Linked DNA regions of Homo sapiens: region 2 is linked to region 1. Evidence: promoter capture Hi-C in 16 types of primary human blood cells and fetal thymus (Javierre and others, 2016). All regions are on one chromosome and are shown on one strand. Each heading gives the region's core, a stretch centred on a gene start or on the middle of the fragment in contact. The rest is flanking DNA. Distances are from core to core; before and after follow the strand shown. Region 1 holds the start of TH (tyrosine hydroxylase). Region 2 holds the start of KRTAP5-4 (keratin associated protein 5-4).

Region 1 (2,700 bases), core at 174-2,673:
GTGCCACCCCGCAGGCGCCCGCTCCTGGCTGCCTTGTCATCCCTCCACCCTTTGTCATAGCTCTGGGCGCAGGTGTCTCTCCCTGGGCTCAGCGCCTCTGACCCCTCGATCCCAGAGCCGTCCCAGGCCTGGACAGAGGGGGACTTGGCAGACACCTGGGGCTCATCCCTTGGAGCTGAACTCCCAAGAAGGCTCTGGGCCCCTTGTAAGAGAAGAATCAGCTTCATCCTGAGCTTCCAGGGTTGTGGAACATGAAGGGGAGCAGCAGAAGCCCCTCCCAGAGTCCCCTCTTACTTACCCTTGGGGTGGGGGTGTAGGATGCAGCTGGGGCTGCAGTTCCAGGCCACGGAGAGCCTGTGAGGCTGGGCCCCGGGGCGCCCTGGGGAGGGGATGCCTGATGGGGAGCCTGGTGGGGGAGGGTAGGGGAGGGCGGGGGAGGACGGGGGAGGGCGCCCTGTGTCCCTGAGAAGGTACCTGGAAATGACACTGCTACAACTCACACCACATTTCAATCAAGGTCCATAAATAAAAACCCATTTTAAATGTGCCAGGGAGCCCAAGGTTCTGAGTGCCCAAGGAGGCACCGAAGACCCCTCCTGTGGGCTGAAAAGCTCCCGATTATCCAGCCTGGCCCACACAGTCCCCTGTACACAGGGCTTCCGAGTGCAGGTCACAGGGAACACAGACTCCATGGTGAATGAATGAATGAATGAATGAATGAATGAGGGAAATAAGGGAGGAACAGGCCAATGGGAATCACCCCAGAGCCCAGATACCCTTTGAATTTTGCCCCCTATTTGCCCAGGACCCCCCACCATGAGCTGCTGCTAGAGCCTGGGAAGGGCCTTGGGGCTGCCTCCCCAAGCAGGCAGGCTGGTTGGGGTGCTGACTAGGGCAGCTGGGGCAGAGGGAGGCAGGGGCAGGTGGGAGTAGGGTGGGGGCTGGGTGCAGCAGCCGGGGACCTCTGGCCATCTTGGATTTTTTGGATGGATTTGTTTCCACATTCCGATCGTTAAGATTCAAGATGAAACAAGACACAGAGACCCACACGACCCCCGAGAGAGGTCGGCCTAAGAGGGGCACACACAGGGACAGGCATCACCTCACCCTCCCCCAACAGGGACTCAAACACCAGGCACAGGGGATGCCGCTGTGCCCAGGCCTCCACATCCACGCCGCGTCCCAGGGGTTTGCATGGACCCTGAGCCTGGGGCTGCCAGCCAGGCTGGGGAGTAGCAGAGGCAGCTGGCACCAGCCCTGGGCTCCGGTCCACTGCGGCCGCCGGGCACCTACCTGCCCTCTTACCATGATGGCCTCTGCCTGCTTGGCGTCCAGCTCAGACACGGCCCTGCGGAAGCCCTTGGCCTGTGGCGTGGTGGCGTCGGGGGTGGGCATGGCTCAGTGTGGAGGTCCGGGCTCCGTCTCCACAGCCCTGGCCCAGCAGCCTCTTATAAGCTGAGCTGACGTCAAAGCCCCCTCTGGGTCCCCCACCTTCCCCTCCTTACATCCCCCACCCCTGCCTGCTGTGCCTGATGGAGGCGGGGGTGGGTGAGGAAGGAGGGAGGCGCAGGAGAAAGGGCTCGTCCGTGGAATCTAATTGCCTTCACTCCCCAGCCCTGTCTGAATCATCCTCAGCCCGCGGGCTTGCGGGGACCAGGGGCTCGTGCTCTGCGGGGGGCTGAGACAGCCAGGGTCCCCTTGGCCCCACAGCCCTCAAGAGAGCACACAGGGAGGGGCTTTCTGGCAGCCCAGGGGCACACTTTTAATGAACACCAGAACCTCGTGGCAGACCGACCCAGAAAGCCCCAAGACGGGGAATCCAGCCTCCAGCCTCAGATGTCAGGAGGCAATTTGTTTGCTTCTCCAGAAGATTCCAGGCCGTGTGTCTCATAGACGTGGTTCCTAGGAGTGCCATCTGCCCACAGCCCCCGGGCCCTGCAGGTGTGGCCCTTGCAGCGGCTTCCCAAGCTCGCCCCGTGGGGTCCAGAATGTCCCAGGAGGGCCCACCTGTCCAGTGTGGAGGACCCTGGGAGGCTGAAGAAGACATCTCTAAGGAGACGCCACGCGTTTCCAAATGGCTGCCACCTCCTGCATCACAGTCCCCACCAGGGTTGCCAGGGCGACCAGGGCCAGGGACGGCTTCCACCCACCCCACTCAGCCCCTCTATGGCCCACTGCTAGCTCCTGGCTTCCCTCGGGGTCCTGTGGCCCCTTCTTTAAAGAGCACGCACGTCCCTCAGTGCTGAGGGCCCTGATGCCTTCCCCTTGGAGAGACCTTTGCAGTTTCTCCTCTACCCCACCAGGCCCCGGGTTGAGGGTGACCCTGGGGTGACCTGAGAACTCCCTTGAGGACAACCCCAGCCTAGAGCCTCCCCCAAGTTCCATGTCCGCCCCGCAGGCACCCGCATCCAGCCCACGCCCACTGGCACCTCCTGCTCCCAGCCGCTGCCCCACCCAGGGAGAGTGATGCCCCTGCCCAGGGTGGCTTCTGGCCCTTCTGGTGGAAGGGGAGGCCTCCCCATCCCTCTGGGGTCAGCAGAGATGGCCAGAGCCTGCCTTGACAATGCTGGACTGTACAGAGGGAAGGACGTGGCCCCAGAGTGCATGGCCTGCGGCTGAACGCTGCCACCGCTGTCCCTCCTGGAGAAGAACCGTTTCCGACAGGGCTTGGGGCTTCCTGTATCTGCTGGGCTTTCTGGT
Region 2 (2,700 bases), core at 108-2,607, 550 kb before region 1:
ATCCTGGTTAACATGGTGAAACCCTGTCTCTACTAATAATAATAAAAAAAAAATTAGCCGGGCGTGGTGGCGGGCACCTGTAGTCCCAGCTACTGGGGAGGCTGAGGCAGGAGAATGGAGTGAACCCGGGAGGCGGAGCTTGCAGTGAGCCGAGATGGTGCCACTGCACTCCAGCCTGGGTGACAGTGCGAGACTCCATCTCAAAAAAAAAAAAAAAAAAAAAAAGATACAGCAGAGTGTTGGACATGCAAAGCCACTCCAAGGAAGCCTCTTAAACGCCCACCTTGTTGCAGGTGGGACGCTTATGCCCAGCTGCTCCAGCTGGAAAAGACAGGACTGCAAGTGGGTTCAGGAGCTCAGGCCTCTGAAAAGATGAGCAAAGGCGAGGCTAGTGGGTGAGGGGTGATTCAGCTGCAATTGCAGTTGACTTGGGGAGAGAATTTGTTAGGAGAGACAATGGACATTAATTAGGGTGGACTCTTCTTAGGAAAAGGCAGCCAGATATGGCATCGTTCTACAGCAGGGAATGGACCCTGAGCAATGATTTGGGGCTCAACAATGAAGGACAGGTCACAGCTTTGGAAGACAGGATTAGCAGGACTCACATGAGGCCTGAGTCCAGAGCCTCAGATCTTACACTGGCAGCACACAGGGACACAGCAACTAGACTGGGAGCAGCAGGGATTGCAGCAACTGGACTGGCAGCAGGATGACCCACAACCTGAGGAGGAGCAGCAGGGCTTACAGCAGCTGGACTGGCAGCAGTAGGGCTTGCAGCAGCTGGACTGGCAGCAGGATGACCCACAACCTGAGGAGGAGCAGCAGGGCTTACAGCAGCTGGACTGGCAGCAGGATGACCCACAGCCTGAAGAGAAGCAGCAGGGCTTACAGCAGCTGCACTGGGAGCAGCCACAAGAGCCACAGCCTCCTTTGGAGCCCCCACAGGAGCCACAGCCCCCCTTGGAACCCCCACAGGAGCCACAGCCCCCCTTGGAGCCCCCACAGGAGCCACAGCCCCCCTTGGAACCCCCACAGGAGACACAGCCCCCCTTGGAACCCCCACAAGAGCCATAGCCCCCCTTGGAGCCCCCACAGGAGCCACAGCTGGAGCAGGAACAGGCTGGCACACAGCAGCACACAGGTTTGCAGCAGCAGATGGGCACACAGCAGCTGGAGCCACAGCCCCCACAGCCGGAGCCACAGCCCCCACAGCCGGAGCCACAGCCCCCACAGCCAGAGCCACAGCCCCCACAGCCGGAGCCACAGCCCCCACAGCCGGAGCCACAGCCTCCAGAGCAGCCACAGCAGCCCATGGTTCTGGTGGATTGAGGGTGGAGCAGGTAGAGGAGCAGATGAGATGGAGGTGCAGGTGTGGAGCCCCCTGAGCCTGGACCCCCTTATATCCCTGGGTAGGGTTGCTCTGAGACCTTGGTCACTCCATCATTCCCAGCACTTCCTGGGTATGTGATTATTTGTTTGCTGGACTTCGGGTTCTCATTGGCCTGATCCAACACCCACCTGCTTATGTTTCTAAATGTAGTCACTTCCTCCTTGGAACTGGACCTTGTACTGAACTGATCACCTGCCTTCTGTTTTCCTCATGTGATGGGCAGAGGATGGGTTTTCTACAAAGATCATTTTGGTTGTTTTCTTCCCATCTTTTCTTCCCACCTATGGCATTATATTTTTCTTTGAAACTGTGAACTTTGTGTGAAGATAATTTTTTAAAAACTAAGCTTTCATCCATATAATTAAAGAGGCTAATTGAGGAACCAACGTTGTATCTTGGTTCTGTCTTAACACATTGGTGCACTGCAGTGAATCTCTCCTCCGCCAGCCTCAGGTCGTGGGGTGCTCAGGACTCCTGGCTGCTGCATACACAGCCTCACGTGGTGAGTATTGTTTATGTTAAAAATCTCAGGAATTTCATGGGTGGATGGGGGATCTCATTTATCATCCTGTTGTTAATCTCTTCAATTAACTATTAGTGAGGGTGATTCTTTTACTCCAATATAAATTATATACTTTTTTATTGGCCAGGCACAGTGGCTCACACCTATAATCCCAGCACTTTGGGAGACCAAGGTGGGCGAATCACGAGGTCAGGAGATCGAGAACATCCTGGCTAACATGGTGAAACCCCGTCTCTACTAAAAGTACAAAAAGTTAGCCGGGCGTGGTGGCGGGCGCCTGTAGTTCCAGCTACTCAGGAGGCTGAGGCAGGAGAATGGTGTGAACCTGGGAGGTGGAGCTTGCAGTGAGCCGAGATCATGCCACTGCACTCCAGCCTGGGCGACAGAGCAAGACTCCGTCTCAAAAAAAAAAAAAAAAAATTTATACCTTTTTGACTTCTCATTACTGCTTTAAAAGTTATTTGGATATTGAGAGAACAAATCCCTTGTGTTCAAACAGTGTACTTTGTTTTTCCACAGGCATGTACTTGAGTTTAATTTCTGACGTTTTTAAAAGCCATTCTCACTTTGTCTTAATTGTCATTTTTAGCCTCGCCAACATTATTAGATGGTATAAAAATGAATGTCTTTCAGCCGGGCGCGCTGGCTCACGCCTGTCATCCCAGCACTTTGGGAGGCCCAGGCGGGCGGATCACGAGGTCAGGAGATCGAGACCATCCTGGCTAACATGGTGAAACCCCGTCTCTACTAAAAATACAAAAAAAAATTAGCCGGGCGTGGTGGCAGA

What was found. Contacts are between HindIII fragments. The CHiCAGO score rates a contact against its expected background, and 5 or more counts as called.
Region 2: a contact is called between the fragment with the promoter of KRTAP5-4 here and the fragment with the promoter of TH in region 1, in 4 of 17 cell types (M2 macrophages, M1 macrophages, M0 macrophages and 1 more). The highest score is 10.3, in M2 macrophages.

The regions. Positions count from the first base shown.
Region 1 is chr11:2,170,392-2,173,091 of GRCh38, forward strand. TH (tyrosine hydroxylase) reads right to left here and starts at 1,424. Exons shown (of 13, transcript NM_000360.4): 1 at 1,306-1,424. The coding sequence starts at 1,395. It overlaps MIR4686 (microRNA 4686), which reads left to right and starts at 2,672; the gene lies at 2,672-2,700. The HindIII fragment of the contact is 9,589 bases long and covers 1-2,700 here.
Region 2 is chr11:1,620,781-1,623,480 of GRCh38, forward strand. It overlaps KRTAP5-4 (keratin associated protein 5-4), which reads right to left and starts at 1,358. Exons shown (of 1, transcript NM_001347674.1): 1 at 178-1,358. The coding sequence starts at 1,313. The coding sequence ends at 627. The HindIII fragment of the contact is 2,450 bases long and covers 1-1,734 here.